Linked DNA regions of Homo sapiens: regions 2, 3, 4, 5, 6 and 7 are each linked to region 1. The links are contacts of gene promoters, found by promoter capture Hi-C in blood cells and fetal thymus (Javierre and others, 2016). All regions are on one chromosome and are shown on one strand. Each heading gives the region's core, a stretch centred on a gene start or on the middle of the fragment in contact. The rest is flanking DNA. Distances are from core to core; before and after follow the strand shown.

Evidence for each region. The method cuts DNA at HindIII sites, captures the fragments that hold promoters and counts their contacts. A CHiCAGO score of 5 or more calls a contact.
Region 2: a fragment that was not itself captured here is called in contact with the fragment with the promoter of LINC01412 in region 1 in 1 of 17 cell types (neutrophils); the score reaches 6.6 in neutrophils.
Region 3: a fragment that was not itself captured here is called in contact with the fragment with the promoter of LINC01412 in region 1 in 1 of 17 cell types (neutrophils); the score reaches 5.4 in neutrophils.
Region 4: a fragment that was not itself captured here is called in contact with the fragment with the promoter of LINC01412 in region 1 in 2 of 17 cell types (total CD8 T cells and activated CD4 T cells); the score reaches 5.6 in total CD8 T cells.
Region 5: a contact is called between a fragment that was not itself captured here and the fragment with the promoter of LINC01412 in region 1, in 1 of 17 cell types (monocytes). The highest score is 5.4, in monocytes.
Region 6: a fragment that was not itself captured here is called in contact with the fragment with the promoter of LINC01412 in region 1 in 4 of 17 cell types (total CD8 T cells, activated CD4 T cells, non-activated CD4 T cells and 1 more); the score reaches 8.6 in total CD8 T cells.
Region 7: a contact is called between a fragment that was not itself captured here and the fragment with the promoter of LINC01412 in region 1, in 1 of 17 cell types (neutrophils). The highest score is 7.8, in neutrophils.

The regions. Positions count from the first base shown.
Region 1 is chr2:144,519,576-144,523,949 of GRCh38, forward strand. It overlaps LINC01412 (long intergenic non-protein coding RNA 1412), which reads left to right and starts at 2,293. Exons shown (of 3, transcript NR_110570.1): 1 at 2,293-2,351. ZEB2-AS1 (ZEB2 antisense RNA 1) reads left to right here and starts at 39. Exons shown (of 4, transcript NR_040248.2): 1 at 39-99; 2 at 384-535; 3 at 640-710; 4 at 1,179-1,324. It overlaps ZEB2 (zinc finger E-box binding homeobox 2), which reads right to left and starts at 544. Exons shown (of 10, transcript NM_014795.4): 1 at 364-544. LINC02993 (long intergenic non-protein coding RNA 2993) reads right to left here. Exons shown (of 2, transcript NR_136320.1): 2 at 3,969-4,253. The HindIII fragment of the contact is 4,746 bases long and covers 2,134-4,374 here.
Region 2 is chr2:145,022,484-145,026,857 of GRCh38, forward strand. All of the region lies in intron 3 of TEX41 (testis expressed 41), which reads left to right. It overlaps LOC100505498 (a long non-coding RNA gene), which reads left to right. Exons shown (of 8, transcript XR_923410.3): 3 at 1-790. Among named protein-coding and RNA genes, the nearest start is that of LINC01966, 140 kb to the left of the region's middle. The HindIII fragment of the contact is 3,468 bases long and covers 546-4,013 here.
Region 3 is chr2:144,911,057-144,915,430 of GRCh38, forward strand. The region is part of intron 3 of TEX41 (testis expressed 41); the gene reads left to right. Among named protein-coding and RNA genes, the nearest start is that of LINC01966, 31 kb to the left of the region's middle. The HindIII fragment of the contact is 3,006 bases long and covers 434-3,439 here.
Region 4 is chr2:144,141,955-144,146,328 of GRCh38, forward strand. QTMAN (queuosine-tRNA mannosyltransferase) reads right to left here. Exons shown (of 12, transcript NM_001376312.2): 5 at 3,618-3,785; 6 at 1-101. Among named protein-coding and RNA genes, the nearest start is that of QTMAN, 190 kb to the right of the region's middle. The HindIII fragment of the contact is 880 bases long and covers 2,115-2,994 here.
Region 5 is chr2:144,889,044-144,893,417 of GRCh38, forward strand. All of the region lies in intron 2 of TEX41 (testis expressed 41), which reads left to right. Among named protein-coding and RNA genes, the nearest start is that of LINC01966, 9.3 kb to the left of the region's middle. The HindIII fragment of the contact is 815 bases long and covers 1,985-2,799 here.
Region 6 is chr2:144,158,644-144,163,017 of GRCh38, forward strand. All of the region lies in intron 4 of QTMAN (queuosine-tRNA mannosyltransferase), which reads right to left. Among named protein-coding and RNA genes, the nearest start is that of QTMAN, 170 kb to the right of the region's middle. The HindIII fragment of the contact is 843 bases long and covers 1,731-2,573 here.
Region 7 is chr2:144,871,294-144,875,667 of GRCh38, forward strand. The region is part of intron 2 of TEX41 (testis expressed 41); the gene reads left to right. Among named protein-coding and RNA genes, the nearest start is that of LINC01966, 8.4 kb to the right of the region's middle. The HindIII fragment of the contact is 1,385 bases long and covers 1,668-3,052 here.

The DNA of each region.
Region 1 (4,374 bases), core at 1,043-3,542:
CTCTCCCCTTGATGAGTTTTTATTCCAGCCATATAATTCTCAATAAAACTTTTCCTGGGCTGGATAGCAAAGGACACCTTTGGTTACCTGAATGAACAGGTACAGGGGAAATTATTTGGGGGAGGGAAAAAGGAGAGAAAAGCAAGGAGAGAGAGTGTGAGTGTAAGAGAAAGCGAAGAAGCCACTCTTGAGAAAAGCTTGCCATAAAGGAGCTAAACCCACCTGAAATTCCTACCCACGGACACCCCTTCTCACTTCAGACTCACATCCCCACTCAAAATGAGAAAATTAGAAAAGGAGGATGGAGGACGAGCACACCAAAAAGGGATAAAAAGAGAGAAAAGGGGAGGAAAAAAAACCTACCTGCGAAGTCTTGTTTGTAGTTTTGGCCAGAAATGGTGAGAAGAAAAAGCATGAAGAAGCCGCGAAGTGTGGGGGAGAAAAAGGTGGAAGCGAAGAAACAGCTCCCGGAGCAAACTGTACAAAAACCTCGCCAAGAGTGTCGGGAGGCAGGACCGTTATTCCTGCAGAGCAGGTTAGAACTGATCTCTTTCGGCCACTCCAGGAAACACAAACCTGGGGACGGACTGACGTGTTACGCCTCTTCTAATGACATTTTTTTCTTTTTCTTTTCTGTAGGAGAGAGACGAGAGACCCTGAAACACGCGCCACCTATCTTTGTGGGGAGGGATAATTGAAGCGCCCTGAGCGTGAGCATCATGTGAAAACGTGATCGCCAAGTTTCTCTCTGGGAAAGGATCTGGGATAGATTATACCTTGAAGTCTCCGCAAACGCTTTAGTGGAAGAAATGAAATTCCACCTCCCTCCCTTCCTCCTCTCCCTCCCTTTCGCCTTCGCCTCCCTCCCCCCTCCCTCCCTTCTCCCCCCCTCCACCCCCCCCTCCCCGCCCGTCAAGCCTTTGGCATCATTATCCTCATCACTAAATCCTACAGAGTACAGGGCGGAAAACGGTGCACACCATTCACAGAACTGGAGAACTCCAAGGGGCGAAAGTTAAAGGGAAAGATCCCGGGTCCTCAATCCAGATAGTCTCTTCTTATACAGATATCTCTAATGACCAGATTTGAGATGCACATCAAATTGTGTAGGTATCTCAGTACAGCTTCTGGAACAAAGTTCTCTGCCCTTTCTCTTATTGTTATTTTTTTCTTTTTAGGTACCAGAGCCAGAAAAAAAAATGCTGCATGGGAGCTGCATCTTAGGGCATGTGTATTAGGGTGTGTGCATGATGAATTTCTGGACTGGATCCCAATATTAAAAAGTAGTTTGGCATTTTAATAAAGGGTCTCTAAGTAAATTAAAATAGAACACTCGGTTGGCCGATCTCTGAATCTCTCTACACCTCGGGGAGACCTCACTACAAAGTAAGGGAGAGTGTGTAGGGAGGCAGGAGGAGAAACGAGAAAGGCCATAGAGAAACTTAGCAGGGAAGGGAGAGCATGATATTAAACGGCATGGGGTCTAAGTTTTGGAGTATATATTTTTTGATATTACAATTAAAGTAAGATTAAAAAGAAAAGACTCCACCTTTGCTCTGAAGGGATTGGTTATGCAAATATGGAAGGGATTTCCTGGAGAATACAGCTTTCTACTGTATGGTTAATTAAATAATCACTCAAAAGCTTCCAACGTGACGCTTCTGTCGTAATCCAATCAGGTTACATAGGTCCTAAACAAGAAAGATATTTTCCACATCTGGAAGTCAGCAATTTAGCAAGTACTGCACATTATTAACCAATTCAGAGCCCACTTCCCAGGGGAATTTTTTTGAAGTTTAAGTGTTCTTAACCAATGCTCTGCTGTTTTGTTAATCAAAAAGCTGGTTTACACTGCACATAATTGGAACTAATATAGAAGTAAATAAAGACAGCCAAATTTGAGGATGCTGAGCACAGGCATTTATCGGAAAAGGAAGAAATCTCCTATCCTCGGATGGTTCAGGCTCAATTTCTTAAATAACTGTGAGACTTTTTTTTTTTTCCTAAAGAGTGAAAGTGCTTGAGAACCTCAGAGCACAAATAAACTTCTAGCCTCACAGCATTTAGGATTCTTCGGAAAGGTAAAGGTGGAGGTGTTAAGAGGACCAGAGAGCTGCCTCACACCAATTTTTAAGCTTTAATATTGTTAAATATGTTACACCCTCCTGTTTCCAGTCTGATGAAATCTGAAACAAATAATACCCTGATCCAACACTATATTAAGATAAACTGCTTTGAACTGTGCTTTGAATGTGTGCCTAAAGCAAGACTTTGAATGCAAGAGTCACTGGCAATTGCACTCAAAGGAGGGACAAGCCACCACATGGGTTGCCACATCCACACTCCCAGAGGTATACGTCTTTGTATTTTGTATTTTTTTTTGCGGGGCGGGGGAGTGGGGTGGGGGTGGTTAATAGCTACCTAGCACGACCACAGCTAGATCTTGTTCTAGGATGCAAGAAAGTAGATTTTCACAGTTGGTTACTCACCTCTTTCCTAATTTAAGTATTTATTATAATGAAAATAGCTGCTGGATAAATTAACTCTCTCCCCCCACCCCATCACAGATAAAGTGTCTATAGAAGAAAGGCATTCAGGATCTTCAGCTTAAAAATTATTAATAAATAAAATCAAAGATTTTCAACATGGGTCAGGCACATTCTTAATTTTATATTTTACATTTCTTTCATTATTATATATCTATACTAAATATATGTGTGACTTATCAAGTTCCTCTTCTGAGATTTAGCACCACTGTTCATGTCCATTTTTCTTCCTCTTCCTTTTTTTCCTCTTTTTTAATTTAAAAGATTGGAATCCAGCTTTCTCTAGACGTTTGCTTTACAGCCACCCTTCCACCACTCCTAAGGAAGAAGGAGCCCTTTGCATAGAGTTATTACAGGCAAGACTCCTCTTCAGGCACCCAGGTAGCCATTGGAGGCTTACAGACCAGACACACACACAAGCATAACCTCAGGTCAAAGGATCCAATCGAATAGCTAACAAAACACTTGTCTTTATTATGTATATTAAATGTCAGGTTACTTAGGATCTGACTTAAAAAAAAAAAAAAAAACCCTAAGTATTTCCATTAAAAACACCTAATCATCTGATTACCCTGGACTCAGGAATTGCTCAAGTGGCAGGAGGCAGTCCCCAACATTTATCACTGGGAGTTCCGACTAGCCAGTATTTGATTTGGGGTGAAAAAGCAGTCTTCCAGGTTCCCATGAAGGTAGATATTTGGATGGTGGCACGGGAAGGGTCTCCGCGAGGGGTGAGCGCTGCGGCTAGGTTGCCTTGCCCCTGGTTCCTGACTGGCACGCCCCTCCCCAGGCATTTGGCCGAGAGAGTTCCCAACGTGGCAGAGGTGATGGGGTCGGGAGGAAGCCGGAATATAAATTTGTTCCGAACACTCCCTCAGTCCGAGGGCCAGTTCGGGGACAATGGGGATCGTGGGATCAGGAGGATGCAGGAGCACAGGACGCAGAGAAAAGTCGAGAGAGGACTGGGGGCTGCTGGCTTTCGGCTCCTCACACAGCAAAATAAGTCCTGCAAATGAATCTCTCCTTCTCTGTCTTCCCCATTAATAATCCACTTCGAGATTAGCGCAGACGAAAGAGATTAAAACAACAGATACACGGAAATGTGAAATAATATTGCAATCAACATTGAAGGGGGAAAAATAATTCTTTGGGGTTTCCATGGGCAAAACAAACTACCTCCCTCAGGATTCCCTCCACCCAGGCAGGGTGAGAAGGATGCACTTTTGTTTTCCAATTCCCTCCAGCCAGGACCTGGTGCCTGTCCCCCCATTCACCTCTCAGTCTGTCAATTTCCTCAACTTTCACAGCCGCTCCCCCCTCCCCCCGCTCAGCTTGGCGGCCCAGATGCCCGAAGAGATACAATGTTTCTGCCCTTGAACACACAGGCTGTAGAAGGAATTCGAATTTGGCCACAGCTAATGATTTTTTTTAAAGCAAATTCTGTTTATTTTGTACCATGTGGAGAAAATAAAAAAAGGAACCTATTCTCGTTTTGAAATGAAACTGATCTTTCATCTAGAGGAATTATTCGACCTTGTGTTGTGACTCAGGAGGTGGGCAACTTCTTTTGGAGTTGCAAGCAAAGGGTGATAAAGGGGACCCCTGGACTGGGTGTGTGTGGAGGAGGTGGGGGGCGGCAGGGGTCCAAGCCAAGCCAAACGGTTTTCTCACGTGCAGACTCGCAATCCAATCCATTCGGAGTTGAGCCTAGGATAGGAGGGGAAAGTCTATTAAAAAAAAAAAAAATCAGGAGCATCTCTCTGAGAAGCCCTTTCAAACAAAACCAAAACAGGACCAGAGAAGCTCAGACCGTCCCTAACATCCCTGC
Region 2 (4,374 bases), core at 1,030-3,529, 500 kb after region 1:
GGTTTGGAATAAGATGGTGCATTTAATTTCACTCAGAGAACTTATTGGACTTGGCACCAAAAGAAAGAATTTGAAGTATATTTTTTGTCATGATTAGTGGCCCCCTCACCACAACATTTGATTATTTTGGAAAGGGAAAAGTTAAATCCTTGTAAAGTTGTGATTTACAATTTGCAAGCATCCAGGTAGGGAGTTTGACTTCTGCCAGCTTGATCATGGGATCCACATTTGATTCTAGCTCATTGATGTTTACAAAACAGTTCTGTGGGGGGAAATAGAGTTGGAATTATATCCCTTGATTATCCTGGGTGATTTTCTCTCCACACTACATCTTTTCTCATTCACGATGATTTTGGTCTCTTCTGGAACTCATTGCAAGAAACTGGCATGTGGCTGGTTTGCTTTTTGTTTCTAATCTGCAGTATCTGGTATTTTTATCATGTGATTCCTTTGCCCTCACAGTTATGTAAATCTTGAGGCAAAGGAGTTAAAAGGAGTTTCTAATTTTATACCTGAAAATAGCTTTCACTGGATGTTTTTTCTCAAGCTTTATAATTAAGATTGGAGATCTCGTGGGTATTTTAATACGTACTCAAATATGTCCAAACAGCCAGAGGGGAAGTGAATGACCAACTGGGTAGGCTGATGAATATTTTCCTGGTAAATGCATAACTTTCCCCACAACTGTGATGCTTTATCCTTTGACATTAAGAATGCTGTTTGCAGAAGTAACATTCCTTTGAACACTCAGCTTTCTGAAATGGTGTCCCACCGCAAGGACTGGAGAAGGGTGAGTTTGAGCTCAACGCTGGAGTAACAGCCAGGCAAATTAGGTTCTGTCCTAATGTCTAACATGGAAGTATGGTCAGTCAGGTCTTGAAATAAATCTTAAGGTAGACTTAAAAATAATAAATTCCACCTTTTCTACTACTTTTGAATTTTTTGGGTCTATTTCTAGTTGAATTTGGGCTTGTTGGAAAACTGTCTCGAGTATTTGGGCAGTGAGTTTTCACCACGCTTCCTAAGTGAAAGCAGTTTGCTGAATAATGTCAATATAGCAATGTTAGTGGTATTGCTGGCAGAGGAAAAATGCTTTTTACTCTCATTCTGGACTTGAGCAGGAGATAAAGATAAATTCAAAAGTTTTATTGGTACTTCGGAAGTGCTATACTTGTCCTGATTTGAGCATGGTGGTCAGGCATGGATGATTGATGGCAAAGAGGCTAGGTTCCAGTCCCAGCTGGTGGTGAAACCTTGGGCAAATGATTGATCTTCCCTAAGCCTCAGTTTTCTCATCTGTAAGATGGAGTAAGTCTTCTGCAAGATGGAGTAAGTACTTCATTTAGTTGTTGAGGGAATGTAAATATATTATTAACTGTTGGCACATAGTACAGATTCAATAATTATTAGCTATTATTGCTGTTTGTTATTGACCTCATCAGCAGCATGTTTCCTGGCTATCTGTTCTGGTAAATTTAGATTCATATTCTCTGTGGAGGTGAAATATGAAATCAGCTTTCTCTTTCTACTCTCACTGAGTTAATGACAGTAAATCAACGACAGCTTTCTTATTCAACCCTACCTTTGCAAAGCTATTGAAAAATTTGAATTAAAAGCCAATTAATCCTGTATTAATGAGGTCTCTTTCAATTGACGGAGATAAAAAGTCAACTCAATCTCTCTTTTATATTTTCTTATGTTTCCAGGAATTCTGTCCTGTGGACTCTTTTCTTCCCTTGCCACATCTCTCCTCCCCTTGCTCGTTTTCCTCTCTCTCTCTCTCTCACACAGACACACACACACACACACACACACACACACACACACACACACACATATTTTTAATCTCTCTCCCTCCCTTTTCCAGGACTTACTTTCCTGTATGATGGATTCATTTTAAACAAGCTGTCTCCACATGATGGCAAATATCATGATGGCAAATATGATGCTGAATATCTGTAATGGATATACATTAACAGGTTACTACTGTGCCCTATTTTTTTCTACATGTACTATTCTTTATATGGGAATAATTTTTTTTTCCCAGTGAATATCTTTATTACTATTTTTCTTTATTTCTTGTAAAAAATGGGATACATGTGCAGAACATGCAGGTTTGTTACGTAGGTATACGTGTGCCATGGTGGTTTGCTGCACCTATTGACCCGTCCTCTAAGTTCCCTCCCCTCATCCCCCATCCCCCTGGTGTGTGATGTTCCCTTCCCTGTGTCCATGTGTTCTCAATGTTCAACTCCCACTTATGAGTGAGAATATGCAGTTTTTGATTTTCTATTTCTGTGTTAGATTACTGAGGATAATGGCTTCCAGCTTCATCCATGTCCCTGCAAAGGACATGATCTCATTCATTTTTATCGCTGCATGGTATTCCATGGAGTATATGTACCACATTTTCTTCATTCAATCTATCATTGATGGGCATTTGGGTTGGTTCCACGTCTTTGCGATTGTAAATAGTGCTGCAATAAATATATCTGTGCATGTGTCTTTATAGTAGAATGATTTATAATCCTTTGGGTATATACCCAGTAATGGGATTGCTGGGTCAAATGGTATTTCACATTCTAGATCCTTGAGGAATCACCATACTGTCTTCCACAGTGGTTGAAGTAATTTACATTTTATATGGGAATAATTTTGTAATGCACTTGCCTAAAATAATGTGACACTCCTGTCTCCTATAAACATATTTACCCCTTCCAAAGGAGAAATAAAGCTAAATCTTGCCCTGTTACTGCTTCTCAGGTGTATCTTCAGGATCTTTGAGGGGTATATATTTGCCTTGAGTTTGATTCTGATGTGGAAATTCCATGGTTCACTCACTGAGTGCTTAATGGTATTTTCTAGTATCCCCTCCATAGATGATAGAGCAGGAAGGAGAGGATAAATTTATTAAAACTACCATTTAGAAAAAGAGAGAAAGGGAAACAACTTACAATGGTCTGGAGTTTTTGGCATATATCATATTCTTTTGGACTGGAGTAGCAGGACTGCTCTCTTCCGGTAGTAGAGAGCTTTCCATGGTCCCCCAGTCTGGCTGCCCTAAGATCTGCTTTCTGAAAGATGTCTCTTGTCCATTGTGTCATAGCCTTATCTGAGAGGGACAAAGGTCCTTGTGCCATGACAAAGTGGCTTTAGCAGCTCATGTCATCCTCATAGGAGCCAGTAACTAGGGGACTGACTCAGGGGTTGGCAATTCCTAGCTCTTTGCCAGTTTTGAGTTTCTTTGATAAATACCTTTAAAAACCTAAGGAGTCTTCCTGCCTATTTTTTTTAACTTTAAGGGCTTCTACATATTATTGATTCTAAGACGCACATTTTCTTTTTTAAAAATTTATTTTTTATTCCAATAGGATTTTAGGGAGAAGGTGGTGTTTGGTTATATGCGTAAGTTCTCTAGTGGTGATTTCTGAGATTTTGGTGCACCCATCACCCAAGCAGTGTACACTGTACCCAAGTAGTGTTTTATTTCTCACCCACCTCCCACCCTTTGTCACGAGTCCCCAAAGTCCGTTGTATAAGATGTACATTTTCTTTTCACCTTTTAACATTTCTGAACTTGGGAAGTGTGTTACAATCAGTAGTGGCTTAGATAAGAAAAAGTAAATTAGTTCCTAAATCTAGTGAATGCTGGTGTCAAGGGCTAGATTCTAGACCCTGGTCTAGGTGTACCTTCTTTCAGTAAGAGCCTTGACATTTTGCTCACACCTTCCCTACCACCCGTGCTGGCAATGAATGCACTAAAAAGGGCAAAAGCCACTTGTATAAAATTCATTGGTTAGAGTGGCTAAGAAGTGGGTGGGACATGATAGGCAAAGTGAAACACATTAACGTACCTATGAATTACCTTCATGATATTTCATATTTAACTATTTACTGTTGTAAGTATTTCTGATATTCATCAATATCATTTACATTAGTATTGACATCATGTAGCATATTGGCTACATTCTCTTTCAAAACATCTCTTGATACCGCTCACATAAATACAATGAAGCTTGTATTCGATTCACGTGGTTATGATGGAACCTGACATTTGAAAAATTTCCACGTGCTAGTAAATTCACCAGTGTGGTCTCTCTTTATTTATAATCTCTATGGAAGTATTGTCATTTCTGTGTTTTTTTATTGTGTGTGCATTTGTTTTTGTTTTCTTTTAGTTAACATCAGCAAAATCCATGTAGTCTTTTGCAGATTCAGTCTATTCTCAGATGACTGTTGGATTTAGTATATCTCCAAAGCGCAGAGTTTAGACACGTTGCTGACAAAGGCAGCATCACATCAGTCTTCTTTTCATCCAGCCCTCTCAGTTCTGTATCTATTTACTGTGCCCACTTCCTTTCCAGTCTGCACTTC
Region 3 (4,374 bases), core at 687-3,186, 390 kb after region 1:
TGGGTAGGTGAAGTGGGAGGACAGGAAGAGGACCAACGTCTGTGTCCTTCTGTCTGAGGAGAGACAGACACATGACTAAGTAGTAACACCGACAAAGGGTAGATTTCACTAACTACATTAACAGAACTTTGGGCTGATATGTGGATGCAGAAGACAGAGAAATGAATTTTAACTGGGTGGTACCACAGTAATTCTGATGGAAATTTTATCTCCATCTTTACAAGATGGATCAAATTTTGATTGGTGAATATTAGAATAAAAGTTTATTAAAATAACTAATAACGAGAGTGCTATTTAAGAAAAGGCAAGGTGTGGGTAAGGAGTTGTGTCAGAGGAACTGCAGGGGTATTGGCTTGTGGCTGGTAGACTGGAGAAATGAGAGAGGGTAAAATGGGAAAGTAGATCTGGAAAAAACTTGAGATGAACTCATGGAAGCTTGAGGAAACTGAGTCCTTAAGAGAAGTCATGAAAAGTTTTTGAACAGGGACTGCTTTATAGCAAATGGTTGGGGAAGAATCTAGGGTCAAAAATTCAGCTTAATAATATAATAATCACTTTTTGGCTGAATAATTACTGTGTTATTTAAACTTTTTTTGTAGATTTTGGGGGTACAAGTACCATTTTATTGCTTGGATATATCACGTAGTGGTGAAGTCTGGACTTTTCATGTACCCATTGCCCAAACAGTCAATGTCTTACCTAATGGATACTTTTTCAACCCTCACTCCCCTTCTACCCTCCCACCTTTTGGAGTCTCCAGTGTCTATTCATCCACTCTGTATGCCCATGTGTTCCCATTGTTTCTAAGTGAGAATATGCAGTACTTGACTTTCTGTTTTTGAGTTATTTCACTTAGGATAATGGCCTTTAGTTCCATCCACTGCTGCAAAAAACATGATTTCATTTTTTTAAATGAGTAGTATTTATGTGTGTGTGTGTGTGTTATATGCATGTGATATATATGTATATATAACACATTTTTAATCCAATCATCTGTTTATGGACACTTAGGTTGATTCCATGACTTTGCTACTGTGAATAGTGCTGCAATAATCATACAGGTACAGATGTCTTTTTCATATAGTGATTTCTTTTCCTTTGGGTACATACCCAGTAGTTGGACTGCTGGGTCACATGGTAGCTCTACTTTTAGTTCTTTGAGAAACCTCCATACTGTTTTCCATAGAGGTTGTACAAATTACATTTCCATCAATGGTGTATACGTGTTTCCTTTTCTCCACATCCTCTCCAACATCTGTTGGTTTTGGACTTTTTTAGTAGTAGCCAATGAGATAGTATCTCATTGTGGTTTTATTTGCATTTCTCTAATGCTTGGTGATGTTAAGCATTTTTTTCATGTTTCTTGATCACTTGTGTGTGTTCTTTTGAAAAATGTCTGTTCATGTCCTTTGTCCACTTTTTAATAAGGTTATTTGTCTTTTTTTCTTGTTGAGTTTCTTGTAGATTCCAGATATTAGCCTTTTGTTCGATGCATAGTTGGCAAATATTTTCTCCCATTCTGTGGGTTGTCTGTTTACCCTGTTGATTATTTCTTTTGCTATGCAGAAGTATTTTAGTTCAAGTCCCATTTGTTAGTTTTAATTTTTGTTGCATTTGCTTTTGAGGACTTAGTTATAAACTATTTGCCTGGGCCAATGTCCAGAAGAAATTTTTCTAGGTTTTCTTCTAGGATTTTTATAGTTTCAGGTCTCAAGTTTAAATCTTTAATATACCTTGAGTTAATTTTTGTATATGGTGAGAGACATGGGTCTGGTTTTATTCTTTTGCATATGGCTGTTTAATTTTCCCAGCACCATTTATTGAATAGGTAATATTCCCCTATTTATAGGGGAATTCCCCTTTCTGCACTTTATGTTTTTGTTGACTTTGTCAAAGATCAGTGGCTTGTCAGTATGTGGCTTTATTTCTGGGTTCTCTATTCTGTTCCATTGATCTATGTATTTATTTATATACCAGTACCATGCTGTTTTGGTTACTGTAGCCTTGTAACATAATTTGAAGTCAGGAAATGTGATGCCGCCAGCTTTGTTCTTTTTGTTTAGGATTACTTTTGCTATCTGGGCTCTTTTTTGGTTCCATATAAATATAAGGACAGTTTTTTCTAATTCTGTGAAAAATGTTCTTGGTATTCTGATAGGAATTGCATCGAACCTGTAGATTGCTTTGGGCAGTATGGCCATTTAAACAATATTGATTCTTCCAATCCATGAGCATGAGATGTTTTTCCATTTGTTTGTGTCATCAGTGGTTTTTATTATCAGTGTTTTGTAGTTCTCGTTGTAGAGATCTTTCGCCTCCTTGGTTAAATATGTTTCAAGGTATTTTATTTGTAGTTTTTTTTTATGCTATTATAAATTGGATTGAGTTCCTGGTTTGGCATTATGGTGTTACTATACCATACCTATGATTTTATTTCATCTTCACAATAGCACTGTATTATTTTTTCACATTACTGAAAAGAAAAGTGAGGTGTAGGAAGATAAAGTAATTTGCTCCGGAGCACATGGTAAGTGCCTGAGCTATAGTTCAAATTTGGGGCCTTCTAACTCTAATTTCTGTGTTATTAATTTTTCCCTTATTGCAAAGGAATTGCAATTAATGAGGCAGAAGTAATGTGATTCTTCATTTGGACAACTGAAATCAGAAAGGACAGGGAGAACGATTTTTAAAATAGCGTAAAAGGAAATTCGATGTTTTCACAAGATTGGCTAGATGGAAAGGGCACGAGAAAGACAGAGGTCTATGGACAGAAGGGACAAGCGGTAGAGCTACATTTCCATGTGTGCCCCAAATCAGGAGGAACATCTTGGCTAGAAATATAAACCTGGAATTCATCCTTAGGAGGGGAAGATTTAAATGATTTGAGTGAATAATGTCATAGGATGAAACTACATGAGAAGAATGCATGGAGGAAGAGAATTAACAGAAGGAGAAGGAGACAGCACCTCTTAGAGCTAGAAACAAAACCAAGTAAGATAGGCAGAGGCAAGAACACATCTAGGAAGAAATGAAAATAGAAAATATACAAAATGCTGCAAGGTGGCCAGTTCTTACTAACTGGACAACCACAGGAAAATCATTTCTTGAACCTGCTATTTCTTTTAAGTTGCTGTTAAAAAATTGTTGTTAAAGGAAAATGTTGTGAGAATGAATGTGCTAACACATGCAAAATGCTTGGCCCAATGCCAGGCATATAGTTTGTGCTCAGTAAAGTCAGCTATCAGAATGATTGCTATTATTATCATCATCATCATTATCATTGGTAAGCGTTGAAAGAGGCCCTTGGATTTGATGACTCATAGGTTTTTATTGACATTTATGTAATTAGTTACAATACTTTTGTGGGGCAGGAACAGATAACAAGAGAGTGAGAGATGTCAAAGAAGTAGGGAAAGATAACCTAAAATATTTTTCAAAAAGCTTGGCAGTACTTGGAAGGGCAGAGGGCAGTAATTCAAGAAGGATTAGTCTGGGGTTGAGTATATTTTTACTCTGAGAGGACAGGACAGAGGTGGTAGAAAGGGAGAAGGTGGGAATGACTGGCAGAGGAATAGTTTTCAAATGGATGTGCAGGAAGTGGTCCAGGAATATGCTTTCAAATGAACATGCAGGAAGTGGTTCTTTTGAAGGCCTGTCAAATTTAGCAACCTCATAATAAAATTATCTGACAATATGTGTTTTTCATGCACAGGTGGAATGAGTTACAGAGAGGATTATGGTGGGGCGTAGCCTCATTCAGTGATTCATTTGTACAACTCAATTCCCATCGTGAAAATTATTTGAGAGTAAGTTCCACAACTAAAGCTGTGACTGCAGTTTTTCCATTCTTTAAATATTAGTGATGCTGAGGCTGGATCTCAAGGAATGCAATTTAGACTCCTGATGGATCTTGCAGGAACATCACTGATTTTACTGTTAGAGAGAAAGAGTGAGTGAGAGAGAGAGAGAGAGAGAGAGAGAAGAAACATCTCATTTTTCCTTTTGTGCCAAAGGACATAAGAATGAGTAAATCTTCACAGGGTATGAGATTGCAATAAAGATGTGTGCAAATTTAGATGGAAATTAGGCATGTTCCCAGGGCTCCTGGAAAATTGCCAGCATAGTGCTCAAGACATTGCCTTTATAGACTATGTATATATTTATTTCTTTGTAAATCCAGTCTATAGAGTTTTCTGTTTATTATTGTTCCCAAGGACATTCTTTCTCCAAGCATTTCTCTCAGCAGAAACTAACTCAAAGCCAGTTTTTCAACCCTATCAAATGTAACCAGCATTTTCTGTGAAATTCTCTCTCATTGATATTACTGTTCTGCTCCTTACAATTTCTGTTGTGAAACAATCATAGTGAAAACTT
Region 4 (4,374 bases), core at 1,305-3,804, 380 kb before region 1:
TGGGTCTGTGATCAGGAATCAGCTTCATAAATTTTCCCATGGAAGTGAGAAATGATTCCATATTAAAAACTGAGTTGAATACAACCACATCAGCCACCAGGCTGTAAAGGTAAAAGACAAATGCAAATGATGAGCCCAGACTCATTCAGAGTAATTTTTATCAACCTAAGACCTCTATGGATTAATCAGAGTTTATACTACACCTTAGGTTTGCAAAGAACTCTTCACTTCATATCAGTATCTACCAAAATGTCTCTAAGAGCTAAGTTGGTTTCATTAGTGTTATATCACAGGGAGTTGATTGGTGGCATCAGATTTGAAAGGCAACAGGGAAATAGAATGATTTAATGGGATCGCATGAGACTCCAAACCAAAGCATATTTTTCCACAATGCCAGGAACTTTCTATATTATCAACAACACTACGTACAGCAATTCCTTTTTCTTCGTGGCCCAGCTACCCATGTTGAATTTCTGTCAGTGATGTGCATCATTTTACACCATACTACCGAGAACAGAGCATCTGTCACACTTCTCACTAACTTCAAGAAGACTAATTCAGATAAAACTACTTTCATACTAAGGCACGATACCTTCGGCACTATTTGGTTAAAGTCTACTTCTTGCTGTAGCTTTTACTTCAAGAAACTGTGTTAAGTTTTTAAAAGTTCTGGGACTACACAGAAAGGATTATGGTATCCCAAAATAACTTGTTTCACTATCATATTATATTATATTGGGCTAGCCAGAGAAATAGAAGAAACTGGTAGAAATGCATCCGGAAATCCAGATCACTAGGTCCTAACTGATTACATAAAGGTACATATAAATTATAAAGCGCCGCAACACCATGATCTTCGAATTCAATGAAATAAATGTGGTAATACCAGTCCGCAACAACAATGGTTCAAACTTAAGATTTTTTAAATTTCACAATGGTGAAAATGTAATATATATTCAATTGAAACCATACTTCGAATACTGAATTTTGATCTTTTCCTGGGCTAATGGTATGTGCACAATATTCTCTCACGATGCTAGGCAGCAGCAGTGAGGCACAAATCTCAGTCAGCCACATGATCACAAGGGTAAACAACCAATACTCTACAGTGGCCTGTGCTGCCAGATGATTTTGCCCAACTGTAGGCTAATGTAAGTATTCTGAATATGTTGAAGGTAGGTTAGGCTAAGCTATGATGTCTGATAGGTTAGTTGTATTAAATGCATTTCAACTTATCATATTCTCAACTCACAATAATGGGTTTACCAGGCTGTAATCCTATCGTAAGTTGAGGAACATCTGTATACAAGATTAAAGGGATAAAGCAATTGGTTTTATTCCACCCTAAAAATGATAGATCAATACTACTGGAAAGAAGACATGTTATGTCCACAGGACTGCAGAACACCACAGAATAAGTAGAGCTTATAGAATAGGAATGCCGTAGCCAAACGTCAGTTTAGTTTAAGTCATATTTGCTGAGACAGCCAAATTTACTATTACAATGTTAATATCTAGCAGAATAAAAAATGAACAAAAAGAGTGTTGGCCTGCTACTTCCGTGCATCCCTTGAAAAAAACTGATTTTCTATACAAGTATTGTTTATTAGTTGCTACCTAGTGCAAATTTGGGGGGTGTGGGTGATTACAACACGAACAATACAAAGGAATGTCACAGAAGTGCTGACACAACACTAAGCAATAAGGAAGCTAATATAATAATATACCAAAAGTTGAAGGATGTTTTACAGCTAGTCTTGTTTTCACCATATGTCACATATTGTAATAGTGACCTACAGGTCATAATATATAGTTGTGACATGTGTTCATAAGTCAGAGGGTTAGTGAAATCACTGTTTAAGGTGAGTGCTTATGTCAGTCATCTTTAAAGTCCTTAACTGCCACACAGTCCAGAAAGAAATCTGACAGTGCCAAAAAAAGCAGAAGTCAGCAAGAAAACTAAAGAAACATTTGAGGAAGCAGGAGTCATACTTTTCAAAGAGAATCTGAACAGGACTGCCTTTTGACACTCTTATTTTTCCTCTGGACAACTGTGAACCATTTTTTCCCCATTAAGAAGCCAACTGATGATGAAGTACACTTCTCTCTCTCCAAGCTTGTCTATAAGTTTACCCTCTTGAGAAAAGCAATGCTGAAAAATCATGTACAAAACTTTTATAGTCTCATTCCCTATCAGCAAAAACAATGTTTTATGAAAGTGAGGAGGAATCGAGAGCTGAATTGTTTTTAGATAGCTTCCCTCAAACGGCATGTGACCCAATGACTTACATTCTTAAAAATCCAGTCTATGCTAAATTAAAGATCCAAGATAGTTTACAGAAATATCCTTTTTGGTACATTTCCTCCCTGATATGAGTGGATGTAACTTCCATTAACTTTAAAGCCACCCATAAAGGAAAAAATAGACTTAGTTTTTTTCCCAATGATTTCTCAGGGGTAATAAACACACTATCTGAGGAAAAGAATGATGCTAATTCAAGAAATCAAAAGAATATTACAAATGTTTTCCATATTGATAAAGCACAAAATGATTTTATTTTCATTTTTAAAACATATTTTCCTTCTCTGTTTCAATATAAAGTATTTTAATTTTATTATGAAATTTTAAAACGGCTGCTTTTTTTATGAGACATTTGACGTGAAGCAGTTGCACTCTATTTTGATAGCACTGCTACTTCACAATTGAAGCAGCTTGTAAAAATGATTGTAGGAAAACATTCACAAAATGCACACAACACAGAATTATTACTATATAGCCATTTTTCTATGTCAACTAAACTATGAAACATTCTTGCAAGAATTGCGGGTCTGTTCAAATACATCATCAAACCCAGTTGCTAATAGCTGTTAATAAAGATAAATAAAATGTACAAAATCACTGACAAACAGATTCCGTTTGACTGTTGCAGTTATGTGAATAGGATCCAATAGCAAAGCCATTTCAGAATTGTTATTAACTTCTTTCATTAACTAAGCTTCAGGAGATACACTTTGTCGAAGTAACAATAGAGGACCATCACCTTTAAAATGTCATGGTATTTTAAGGCTGTGCCATTTCAGAAGACTCAACGAAGGAAAAAAGAAAACACTACCTAAGGATTCATTGTCCATAGTCTTCTCTGTCTTACAATTTAAAAAAAAAAAAAAAAAAAAGGCGGGGGAGACAAAACCCCAAGTTGCTCCATTATGCTTTAATTTTTACTTCTCTGTAAAACTCTATTTTGATTTTAGCTGAATACAGTGATCGTGATTAATAAGTAAGAGTTGACTAACTGCACTTTCTAAATGCCTTAAGCAATAGATCATGAAATCAAGGGGTGAAGGTCCCTGCCAACCTTTTAATTCTATTTTGAATGTTGTGAAAAATAGATAATTAGCTCAACATATAATTAGATTGTTACATATATGTATTTTTATAAAATGATTAGTTGTGATCTTACATATACTGCAGAAGGAAGAATTGTTTAAATATTTGCACCTACCTTATGGTGTTTTAAAAAAAGGTGTACAATAGTAGGTCTCCAGATTTAAAACGTAACCACCTACAAAGAAAAAGGTAGCAAAGGGCCAAATATAATGATACAATCCATACCTACCATGAAAGAATTTGGTTGTATCCATATTGGAAATCCCTCTCCTGACATTTCTTGACAGGATATATCAACTGGTTCTCGTGAAAATACAGAATCTTTTTCAGTTTCCCAAGGTCAGGCCGAAGGGCAGCCAGTTCGGTCAGGTTAAGCACTGAACTTGCAAAGAGGGTCCTAGGAAACAAGAAAATTGGGGTTTACTGTCCCAAGTATGTTTGAAGGGATCATGCTTTGCTCTTCTCTCCTCTTTCCTCTTCCCACCCCAAGAAAAACACATCCCCTATAGGGACACATCAATAGTTGAGGCTTAATACCATGTAGCAGCATTCTAAGTTTTGATCTCTTAAAAAGCAGCTGCTTAGAACTATAAAGTCCCCGAATCTCACTGGTCTTCTCAGTGCAGTTACTGAGAAATGTTAAAAAAAAAAAAAAAAAAAAAAAAAAAAAAAAAAAGCCGGATGGATTTTATTGAAAAAGGCAAGAAAAGCTCTATCTGAAGGACAAATGGAACAAAGATAAGACTGACTGCGGAATACTTTGCTTGCCAGTTTCATTACACTTTCCTTCTTTATGCAACCAACTACTGAAATTCAATGTATGAGCAGGAATGGCACATGTTCATGTTATGACATAAACTCTTTTGATTTATGCAATAGACTTATCTAGTATGGTCTTTTTCTCTTGGCATGTTTTCTTACCCTCCCCTCACTTGTAAAGTATCTTACAATACTTGTATTTTTAAAAACATCTTTTCTTCTCCATT
Region 5 (4,374 bases), core at 1,142-3,641, 370 kb after region 1:
TATTTTTTATTTATTTGAAATATATTATAAATTTACTATGTACAAAGTTATTGGATATTATTTTTCTACTCAAGACCCTTGAGCAAAGAGAATTTTGGTCTTAGCCGGTCTTAACTGATCTCAAGCTGTGAAGTAGCCATGGTAGTTATTGGGGTTTCAGAAATGCCATGGCGGTATAAATATAGCTTTTCTAAACTTAATCTCACCTACTATTATATTCTTTATTTCTTTTAATGAGGAAGTTGTTAATTCTACTCTAAGAAAATAATGGAAACAACTATTTATACCTTCATCCACAAAAGTATGCTCAACAACAAAAGTCTTCCAACAACCCCCTTATGTAGTTTTTGTCCTATGTCTACATCTAAAGTCATATTGTTTAGTTAGATACAAATAGTGAAACTGTTGCCTTTCAAAACAGTGGGAAAGAAAAACCACTATTAAGAAATTTGTATTAAAATTACTCTTCACTCTCTGACTCACGCACTACTGTGTAGGGCAGGGTCTCTCAGTCCAGGCATGATCGATGTTTGAGACTGGATAATTATTTGTGGTGGAGGCTGTCCTGTGCGTTATAAGATGTTTAGCATCATTCTTTGCCTCTACCCAGTAGATACCAGCAGCACCTTGCCCCCCGCCCGCCAACTATGACAAATAAAACTGTGTTTAGACTTTGCTAAATGTCCCCTGGGAGGTGAAATTGACCCTCATTGAGGACCACTGCCCTGGGTTTTGTAGTTTGTTTCTGTTTTATACATACAGTCCACGCTATATTGTGGCTACTCAAAACTGTCTTTTTAAATGAATAAATAAAAGCCGTCTATCCTCCTTCTGTTCTAAATAGGTGTCGACCACAACAACAAAAGTTTCAGGAGACTTACTATGTGCTCAACATTGTATTAGGTATTATGGTTGACCCTAAAGAAGCATCAGCTTGGCTTTGCACCAAAGAAGTTTTTAGTCAAGTTGGAGAGAGATCACTACTCAAAGAACGCAAGAGACTAATGGAAGACAGAATATATTGGCAGCAGACTAAAAGGCAGAATGGTCACACTTCAAAATGTTTGGTACAAGCTATGGTGATGTTATTGATCTTCTGATTTGATGTTCCTGTGAAGGTTCTATGACCTATTTTGATATGTAGACAGTGGTAAAATGCTCAAAGCTCTTTGCTACGATATGTAATAACAAAGGGAACAGTAAAAAATATTCTGTTTAAATAAGCCAGATCACTTTTACATGTGATGGCCAAGCCATGCAGGGGAGGAGGTGCTGAGCCTGGTTCTGTTAGTAACTGAGTGGTAGCTGAAGAAGACAAATCTAACCAGGCATGGCAAGTCCGTGGATGCCATGAGAGCCTGTGCATTTAGAACTAGGGCACACTAACAGAGATCAAACTAAGTTTTTCCACTAACATCAGACCTTTGCAATTTAATGATTATAAAACTTTCCTAACATTTGCAAGTTTCTAAACATTTATTTTCTTTTATTCTGTGCAATTCCTATTACCATTGAAATTATTTAGGTCACATATTTTTGTGTTATTTAAGTAACACTCAAAGACAAAACCAAGAAATTCTTTTTCTACTTTTAACCATCCTGATTGGATAGTTTATATTTATATCAAGTTCTAATCTCCTAAAATTTTTAGTGTGTTTAATAATGAATCTTTGAAGAATATGATACACTTGTGTAATAGCTTTTTCATATAATAAAATTTTCCAAAGTAAATAACCTGACAAATTAAAAAAAACTCATACATTAAATGTAAAGTACTATTTTGTTATAATCATAGAATTTAATAAATTAAAAGGATTTTAGAGAATATTAAGTTGATGGAAGTTACTATAACTCACAAATATTTTGGTACTCCCACCTTCTGGGCTTATAGCAGAATTGCACTTCTATACTGACTTGAAGCCAGGTGTGGACATATGACATGCTTTAGCCAATTAAACATGATCGTGTGTTATTACCAGGCAAAAGCTTTAAGAAGCAGTGGGTGGTTTTCCTGTGTCATTGTGACCAGTGATATTCCAGGCAGTGGTAGCTCTGTTATCTTGAATCTTGGAGTGAGGATGATGACAAAGCAGGAACATGATCCCAGCTGACCTGCATAGAACATCTAGAGGGAAGGAGAAATAAAATTTTTGGTTTAAACTACAAATACAGTCAGCAAACACAAATACAGTCAGTAAGATTTGGTGATTGTAACCACAGCCTAACTTAGATCACCCTGTTTGATACAAAATCCACATTCCCCATTGTCAAATAGTTATTTAAGGCACAGAGAAATTGCAGCACTTGACTGTGGTTGCAAATGAGGTTGACAAAATCTTTTCCAGAATCAATATCTGCTGCCTAGAGTAGTATATTTTTCCACTTTACCAATGTTCTCCCAAATTTTGCATGTGTACCAACATTGAATATGAGGTGATTTTGTGATATAAATATTACTTTAAATGATAATGTATCACTTGGGCAGAAAGTTAATGTCTCTTCAGTTGTCTTTCACTCTTTCCGATTAATGAAAGGAAGAATTCTCTATTTGGTGTTAGCATGTCTATAACTGTGGATATTTAGCTGCCTTCTAACCATTCCTTTAAAAAAAAAAAAAAAAAGAATGAGAGAACAGGACTCAGGCTCTGAGCCTTCCTTAGGCACCAGACAGAATTCAATAAGTGTTTGATTTTCACTGAGATAAATTTTACAGTTACTTTTTGTTGTTGTTGTTGTGGAGACAGAATCTCTCTCTGTCGCCCAGGCTGGAGTGCAGTGGCGTGATCTCGGCTCACTGCAAGCTTCACCTCCCAGGATCAAGTGATTCTCCTGTCTCAGCCTCCTGAGTAGCTGGGACTACAGGCACATGCCACCACACCCAGCTAATTTTTGTATTTTTAGTAAAGACAGGTTTTCTCCATGCTGGCCCGACTGGTCTCAAACTCCTGACCTCAGGTGATCCGCCCACCTTGGCCTCCCAAAGTTCTGGGATTATAGGCATGAGCCCCTGTTCCTGGCCACAGTCACTTCTTTTATAAGGTTTTCCATTTTCGTAGTGACATAACATTTACCTTAAAGATATATTTGTTCAAGAACCAAAAGTTAAAGAAAAATATTAGCTAAATTACAAGGCAGATGCTATGCAGATATGGCAGAAATTGCAAGAGTAATTAATACACAGTGGTGAGTGGTGAGGTGAAAATAACTGGTGCTGGGTAAAGAAATTCTACCATGTCGAAGTACTGACATCAGATCCTCTCTTTTCATAAAAAACAGAAAAATAGGGAAATATATATTCATTTATTCTATGAGTTTCTATTCAATTCTGTTAGCAAAACCCATTCCTTTGACATCTACCAAAGAGAATTTGCTAGGTCCTTGGTGGCACAAAGATGTGTACAGTCTTTTCTCTAATCCTCAAAGACTGAATGTCACATATAACTGGAAAAAAACTCTTTTAATATAAGAAAACAAAAAAATCAGCAATTTTACTCACCTTCTGTGATCACATTTGAATCTTGTCTACACTTGTAGGCTTAATAATCTATTTAAATAATGCTTATATAAATTGATTTCAAAAGTACTTTCTATTGTTATTGTTTTTTAATTTCAGATCTCTAAATAGTGTCCCTAACTGACATTTCTTTTGTATGTGGGTAGGTAAAATTGATTTTGTCTCAATTAGATAGCACCTATCTCTTTGTTGGCCTGGTCAGGGTGAGGAGCAAGTGAATGCTTTCTATATTTAGAATAACAGTGGAGAATGACATAATTAACAAAAAGTAAGCAACATAGAAGGAAGAGCAGGTTTCAAAACAGTATACTGGGTACAGTTTTGAACAGTGATTCCATTAAACTTACAGCGAGCAGAGAAGCCACAATATTGAGCTACGTTAATCAACTTTCAACAGAATCTCAAAATTAAGATTTAGCAAATTTCAATATCATGTAGGACCATGGGAATCACCTATTTTTTACTAGATGCATGGCTGTGGTATAATTTATTAGACGCATATGTGTGCATATCAGTTTTTAGTATCCAGGGTCAAACTCCATTTAAAGCCACAATGGCCTTACAATGTCTTTGTTTTATACTGTTCTACACTTTACTCTCTGCTACCTTAGCAGTCAAAGACTATATTATCAGAGTGGTATATTGCAATGGCTCCTCTGGCATTTTCACCAAACAACATGTGTTGAATGCTATTATATTAAATGCGGTTGGAGAAAGGGCTTCCAGGTATGCTACTGAATAGTCGTTGCTCTTAAGAAATTTAAATTTAGATAAAACAGATTTTTTTAAGGGTGTAAGAATCATGCAAACTGTACCAGGATGATTCTGTATTGATCAGCCTGAGATTTATATTGTATTTC
Region 6 (4,374 bases), core at 902-3,401, 360 kb before region 1:
TTTAAGATAAACATTGCAACAGATACATTACTTCAGAGTCAATGAAAAAAGCCTGCATTAACAACATTATGTTTGAAATTGTATGTGCAAAAAAAGTCAGAAAATCCAAAATTATGGTTCCCTCAGCAACTATAACTGTGTCCTCATGCATATAGAGGTATTGTGCATTACTGTAATGATGATACATTTCAGCCTTAATATCAGTTTATGCAATGTGACTGAATTAGGATTCTTCTGGGAACTATAACTTTGAATTTCTGGACTTTTTTGAATGTAAAATCTTAACCATAAAATTACATTAATATAGGGTGGGGTTTTTGCATTTTACTTTCTGGCATTTAAAATAACAATAAAGAGTGAATGGCTGACAACATTAAAGTAGCAAAAGATTGGTTGATTTGCAATAATACAAAAAGGATTTGATACAGAGCTTAATGCCTTAAAATAGGGATGCACAAACTGCAGATCATAAAAAATAATCCCTTTGAAGATTAATCAAGACAAGAACAGGTGAGACATCTTTCTAGGAGTAAGTAAATTTACTTGTTCTATAAAATTTTAGTTTCTGATTGGAAGATACTTTCATTTAACTATATTTTAACATGGATATAAATAAAAATGCCTGAAATAATTCTTTCAACACATATTCCTGCATGTTATCAAGAAAAAAAATAGTGTTAAAACGGTCCCCCATATTTTCAATAGTGTAAAGCTGGTTGGGAGCCACTTTTCCTTCTTGTACTTGCAACATGGTAGGACATAAACTGTAAGATGAAACTGCATTACCGTCACCAACCACTTTCTCATCATGGGGCCGAGGCTGATTCAAATATGGTTCACAAATGGAAAGAAACAGATACACAGTGATCAAGTTCAACTAAAGAAATAGTTAAGTGTATTTTATGCCGTTACTTAGGTATTATACAAGCATGGAATAGCTGAGATGAAGTAAAGAACAGTGAGATAGTGAGTTCAGAAGAGAAGAGCCATAATCACATGTGTTTGAGGAATATTACAAATACTTTCATGGAGGTGGCATTTTCAATAGGCCAGACTGGATCTGTAGTTTTTCAACAAAGAGAAGACATTCCAGACAGAGAGCTTACAGAAATAAAAGTGGTCAATACTCAATTTGAAAACAAAAAGGTTGGCTGAAGGGGTTGGCTCATGAAAAAGTTGTAATAAGAAAAGCTGCAAATGCAGATTAAGTATATATTGTAGAGGACCTTGAATGCAAGGCTTACAAGTGAGCCAATGTGTACACAGTGCGGGGATGCTGAAGTTTCAGGCTATATTTTTTTAGGAGTAGAGAAACAAAAGGCAAAAATAACAAAACAAAAACAAAAAAATAAAAATTCCATAACAGTACACGTAAAGACTAAAGAAAAAGGGACCAGTTATGAGATGATTAGAGCAATACAGACAAGTTGCAAAGAAAGTCTGAAGAAATGTAGTAACATTTCTCCTCTAAAGGAGGAGAAGGCACTAAAAATGTACCTTCAAGATTTTGAAATGTAATGACTATCGGAAAGATCATGCCATCATAAAAATATAAAATCAAGGACAGTGTCTCATGCAAGAAAAAAGAGTGACTGAACACTATTTAGTAAATCTTAAGTTTAAGGTGTCAGGGTCTGTACAAACAAGCATTTCCTACAAAAATGTTGAGATATGGTCCTAAAGTTACTGATTACAGCAATAAAAATAATATTATCCTTTATACTTATATAAGCTTGTACCTTTCACTGTCTTTTTATCCTTCTAGTGTTGGTAATTACATCAGTTGTACAAATAAGAAAACTGAGGCTCAGAAAGGATGACTTATCAAATCTCACATGAGTATTACATGGCAAAGTGAGACTGGAGACAGATTTTGGAACTTTTGGTATAGAAGTCACTTTGAAGTTGTAAGATTATCAAGAAAATGTGGAAAGAAAACATGGTAACTTATGCGCAGAACCAGAGGGAAAACTTAAGACTGTAACGCAGTGATCATTCAATACCTCAGTAGATGATCAAGATGCCTAACAAAGCATTACAGGGCCTGGCAGTCAACAGGTATTCAATGAATAGCTGTCACATCAACGGTTAGAGGGGAGACAGCACCAAATCGTGTCTTTCTATCTGTGATGGACAGAGGAAATAGCTCTCAGACTAATTTAAGGCAGCCACTTTCTCAAATGAATTCTTACACACAACTGGTACGTAAAATACACAAAAACACCTTTGAGTAAAGCAGGAATAGATGGTCTGGAAATTCACCTAACTCAACCTTTTTTCACTTCCTTTGACAACATGTCCTTTGTATATATTAATATATAGAAATCTCTGAGACAACTCCACGCAACCCAAGAAAATGCTGGAAATCCTCTATGTTAGTCAGTCATAAGAGTGATAATAATTTGGGACATCTGAGTATGGCACGAAAGAAAAGGTAACATGTGGTCTGAAGAGATCATACTGAAATCGAGTACCAGCCTGTCTACACTTGATGGTTAAACAGACACTCCATTGTCATGTTCTACTAGCTGGGATCCTTCATTACTTCTTTCTTGTATTTATTTATGACCAAAAGCTTCCTATGATTATGACTCATATCATCAGATCACTTGGACATCACAACTGTATACAATGGAAATGATATATTTAATCGAGTCAATTCCCTGTGGCTGTCTTGTTCCAGTACCCTGTTGCAGAACCTCCCCACCCACTTACATCTTGTAAGAAACTGGCCATGCCACATTATTCCACATAGAAGCCAGAGAGGAAAAGAACAGCATAATGTCAGAAGGTTAAAATTAAATGTGAATGCCCAAATTTCATATCTTACCAGAAAGAAGTTTTGTGATCTAATCATGTTACTGATAGGACCAGTTACATGTATGACTAGGGAGGAAAGGATATGAATGTCCCTACAGTTGAAAAAAACGAAAGAATGATTGAGTCCTTTCTAACAGTAGACTTGACAATGTTGTTCCATTTTAATATAAATTGTAAATGAAAAATCCAGTCCAAATGGAGAGTAAAAACAGTAATCATTATTTTAAAATCCAGCCCAAGTAAGTAGTAAAAAACAGTAATCACTATAAGATTTTATTATGGCAATACCTGTGTACAAATATGAAGAAATATGTAAAGAAAATCACAGGCTAATTCTTGGATAATTTATTCAAGGAGTAAGTTATGAAAATTCATCAATAAGTAGAATAAATGGGGTAAGGCAAAGAGAGCTTACCATAGATTCTATTTATGCAACTACAGTTTTAATTTAGTTTGCATTGATGGACTCTTATTTCATGTGTTACAGTGATGTTAAACCTAGACACAACATGCCTTGCATCTCAAGTTTTCATAGTACAAAGACATTTGGACGTGGCATAGACAGTTGCTCCTTTTGCTTCAAGTGATAAATGGTTCAGCTGTAAAAAGGATCTGAATAGACCTAACAAAAATCAGTGAGTGAATTTAGAAGAGTAACTACATGCATTAAAATTTTTATTTTGCTCTCCTGATTTTTACACGGTAATTTGCCTTCAGGAGAAACCATGCTGACACTGTCCTGGGTGTTTTCAGGCCTTTGCAAATGAGGCTGAGACCTGGTTCCAGGAACGAATATACTTCAAAGGAAACAGTACCACCTACAACACCTGTCATCAAAAAAGACAGTGGGCCAATCAAAAAACCTAGGTCAAAAGAGCATAACTTGGGCAAGATGCTGGTTAAATTCAATGAATAAAGCAGAAGAGTAAAGATTTCAAGGAGAAGTCTTGCTCAGAATTTAGGAAGTGACTCTGGAAAATCTTGTACAGATGTCAAGCTTGACTGGGATTATGCAGCGGACAGAACTGGCAGGAACTAAGGAAGAAGTATCAAAGCCCCAGAAGGTGCCTATAGAATAAAGCAGAATATATCAGGGGAAAAAAACAAAGAGAGAAAAATCTGGCCAAGTTAGCTAAAGGTGGCAGTTGAAAGGTGAGGAGAGATAAGGGAAAGAGCAGCAAAGTAAAGGCCTAGGGCTGATCTCATGGCAACTGGCAACAAGAGAGACCTAGGGGTGAATGTCAGCTGGAAGAACGTAGGAGCCCAAACAGCTGTGCGGACGAATTCCAGGTCTTGGATGGATAAAACTATAAGTCACATCAACGAGCAGGTGTGCATCTGAAGCTAAGGATGTGTCTATCAGCTGACTCAGGTAAGAATGGCTCAGGTACTGTGCAAGACTGAGTTTGCAGATAGGGGGCATCAGTGGACCTGACTGTGCCCAGCTAGGGAAAGCCAAAGGCACAGAAACAAAAAGAGGGTGAAGAGACAGCAGTAAATAGAATAACACAAAACTGTTTCTGAATTATAATATGTGTACTTGGTAGAGACTAC
Region 7 (4,374 bases), core at 1,110-3,609, 350 kb after region 1:
TTTAATTATTTGAGCACATTGGCTGCTATGCTTTCATGTGACTCTTTAGGCAGATGGGATGTCTTTTGCAAATAATTGTATTGTGCTCTGGCATTTTTCATGTTACTATTTTAGGGTTGAAAGAAATTTTTAGCTTGTGATGAGAAAGCATCTTGCAGGACGTGAAGTCATCCTGGTGAATCTAGGATGGTAATTGCAGGACTGTGCTGGTGCCAAAGGTGAGCATCGGGACTGGGGCAATGGTGGAAGTGACACACTTTGTCCTTGCCTCCCACCTGAAACCCCTAATTTCAGAACAAATCATCTCTCCATTCCCATTAATCTCCACTGAGAAAATTAAGCCATAAGACTTGACTTTACTTATGACATCACATTCTAATACGGGTTTCTTAAAATGGCCAGTCCTGACAGGCACAATACCCTCTCCTCTTTCTGACATTGCTGAGATGCCTGAACTTCTAGAAGGCAAGAGTCAAGTCCCTGATCCTCTTCATATTGGCCAGACCAGCTCACTCCTGCACCCAGAGGGTATCTCTTGTCCCCTTCAACCTGAATCACTCAGAAGCAAGTGAATATATGAAGTCTTATTGGGTTTACTTATTAGGAAAAGTGATGCACATTATTTTAGAAGTTATCTTTTGAACTTTGTGAACTGATACCGGGTGTTCTTTACAAAGTATTTAATCTCATCTCTGAACTGAAAATACGTGACTCCAAAAGGAAACAGTGGATGGCATTATGATGTGGGGGACTCAAGACACGTGCTCACAGCAGTCATCATAATGTGTGATCAAATATTTGTTTCCTCCAGTTCTTCTACTTGTTATTTATCACCTACTAGACTGAGCCTCACAGGAGTTAGGATTGTGTGTGTTTCTACAATAGTGTAAGACAGGGCCCAGTATACAGCAGGTACTCATAAAACACCCTGAACAAATAAATAGTCAAAATGACAAATGTTCATAGTTGTTTACTTATAACAGGAAATAAAAACACACTTCTTATCCTGTACATAGCACAGTGCTAGGAAAACACTCGATAAATGTCTCTGCCTTAGTCCACGGTCTTCTCCTCTCAAGCACACACTTATCAGCTTCTGCTCAACTACTCACTCCTGTGATTTTGACCTTTTGCTACACCTGTATCATATGTCACCTTCCTTAACCGGAGCCCATATTACTTCACTGGCTTTCTTTCCTCACTTCTGTCTTCAGGTACTTCCATAGCTCTTCTGGGCCTAAATAATGTCTCCAGTTCCCTAAGGTAATGCTCAGAACGATATGCTTATATCTGGGGATAGAGAGAAAAATGGCAGAAGCCTTGCCACTCAGCAACTCACAGATTAGTACTCTGAATGGCATGATCTCAAAGTGCTACGGGATCCAAAACCCAAATTGGAAGGATCATGGAAAACTCTCAGGATCAAAGGACATATCTGAAAGATGCACAATTCATTGATACCCATTTGGAAGTGCATTTGTTTGTTTCCCAGAAAAAAAAATCTTTTAAACTTCCCCAACTGTATCTTTGGTCATATCTTGGTAGAGTTTTAATATAGTCTTGGATTATTAGTTGAAAGATTGAACATAAAGATTTTTTTTGTTCTCACTGAGCTACTATTTAAACGTTTTATTATTGATGCTTGTGGAAAATGGCAGCAATGGAAAAGCTTGTTCTGATGCCATTCAATCAGTGTCGGGTGGTTCATTTTGAATCAAAATTGAATCAAACCAATAATGATACTAATGAGGGGGATATCAATAGTTCAGATCACATAATTCCTAGTGGTGTTAATACTTTATTTGGGTAGCCAACATGAAAAGGTTTTCAAAACATCTGCAGCTCCCTTTCTGTTTGAATCTTCTATATAGAGCAGTGGTTAGAAAAGTGACCTTTAGAGTCACACAGACCTAGATTCTAGTTCTTACTTGTTCATCACTTGCTGTCTGACCATTGTACATTACTCCCTAACAAAAAATGTCTTCATCTCTGAAGAGGAAAGAATACATTTTCTTCTGTTTTGTAGGATTGTTGGGATACAAGCGTACAAGGTGGTTAGCTTAGTGCCTGGCATACAGTAACATTGAGTATGTATTAGCCATAGTTATTAATAAAAATAGCCAACATTAAAAAAAGACAAAGATGTAAATGAAATATAAAGAATACTTATGTATCCTAATGTCCAGTCCCCCAACAGGAACTTTCTGCATAAAGTCCACTAATCTGCAGTTTCCCTCAAATCTGGCTGCTTATAGAAACCAACTAGACATTTAAAAAAAAACACAGATTCTCTACCTTTATTCTGATCTTTTGAATACGAAACCTTGGCAGTGGCTCTGGGAATTTTCATTAAAAAAAACCCACCAACAACAAAGAAATACCTCCCCAGGTGTGGAAATCACTAAAGTCCTTAGAAATGAGACGATGGTGAAATCTCTCAAAGCATATATAAAACATTTGTCCTTCAGAACATAACACTATTTTGGAAAATGTGGGAAATATATAATATGAACAGAATAAATAAAGGTATTCATGGTAAGGCAACACTTCAGAAAATAGTCTTGTGGTGCCTCTATGTAATTTATGTAAGGCAAGCCTCTCAGTACATAGTCTATATTATCTTTCTTCTGATTAAAACCAGAATTAACCTTTCAACATATTATAATAGGGTTTTGTTTTAGTCAAAATTGTAATTTCTTTTTATGCTTTTCTCAAGTGTTCTATTTTTCCCTCATCAAAGCATCCGCTTTTATTTTACTTTAGACATAAGTCCCAATGTTTCATAGACATGAGCTAAGAACAGTCTTATTGAGAAGAGAGAAACATTGAGAATAATAGGAGTTGTTACACACACAGTAACAAATGAAATACATCTTTTGTAAATAACTCCCACCAGAAATCTTATATTTCCAGGCATCTATGCATATACCTTCATATAACAACTTTTGCGTTCGTAAAACATTCATGGAAGGCAGCTCTGCAGTTTTATAGAAAAACAACGTGCCAGGGATGCAAGAATCTTGCCAGTTCTGTGAAAAATGACACCAATTAAAGCTTAAATTGCTTGTTTTCTCATAAGGTACATATTTTCATAACTTTGAAATCAAATAATTGCTGCTTTTATATTAAATACAATAAAACAAAAAGGATGCTAGTTTAGAGGAACTGCTACAAGCATTTTAATATAATTTTCCCACCATTTAAAGTCACAAAATATGGAAAACAAGTCAAGTATGCAAAGTTCCAAGGAGATAGAGAAACTCCTTCAGATTATTACATCATTTGTCTTTTGTGTCAGGAAATGTGTATATGATTTCATTGTTTGATTAAATGCCAAAAAAAGGCACATTGCTCTTATCTAACTGATTACAGATTTTATTCATATGAAAAAGTATTTGTTAATGCTTTACCATTAGAAGATGTTTTTATTTTTTTTTCTTTCTTAAGTTCTAAACATGCATTTCCAAAAAAAATAATCTTCTAACTTCCCAGGCTTTATTTCTTTATTTTGCGTTAACAGTACATGATACTCAAATTTCCCGTAGTGAAATCCAGTCCCTAATGATTTCATATCTGCAAACTGAACAAACAGTTCCTTTCTGACTGGGTAGAGTGAGTGTGTCTGCATGTATGTGTGTGTGTGTGTGTGTGTGTGTGTGTGTGTGTGCAAGCTCTGAAATATGTCAATTTTAAAAAACATTAGAGAAAATAGTTTTAACATATTGAGGTACCTAAAAATAAAAGGTTTTTGATATGTGTGTCTGGGGCATTACTCTGGGGCATAGTCAGAGAGACAAATACGATTTAAAATCTAAATCAAGTGTTGTAATATGTTTTAATACTTTTATATAGTAATTTTTAAATATACATATGTAAAGCTGCCATTGAGCAGATGAATTATAATTTTCTTAGGCAACATAAAATACTGATTACTAAACTTGTGATATTTAGTAAAAATATGTAAAAGTGTAAAACTGTTGTCACATTGATGGCTTTTATTTGAATCTGCGGGTGCCTGAGTGACAGCTATGGTTTTGGAGAGAGAGATACCATGTGCTTTTCATGGTATAAACTAGCTGTCTGCATTAATAATAAGCTTGTGCTGAAGCCAATTTGAGGCTACATCGAGGGATTTCAAGGTCATTTGCCAATGGCCTGGCCTCCATTAACTTCTTCAGTAAAAGTCCCAATGATCCTTATTTTGGCCTTGAGTGTGGGTTATCAAAATCATCCCTCTTAATATTTCCACATAAATAGCTTGTTTCCTTAAATAGTCATTATGTTCAGTGGGGACAGTTTCTGAAAGCTTCTCAGTTCAATAGAAAAATGCATTTGGAAAAATCTGTTATATTAAAGTATATCTGTATTTGGAGA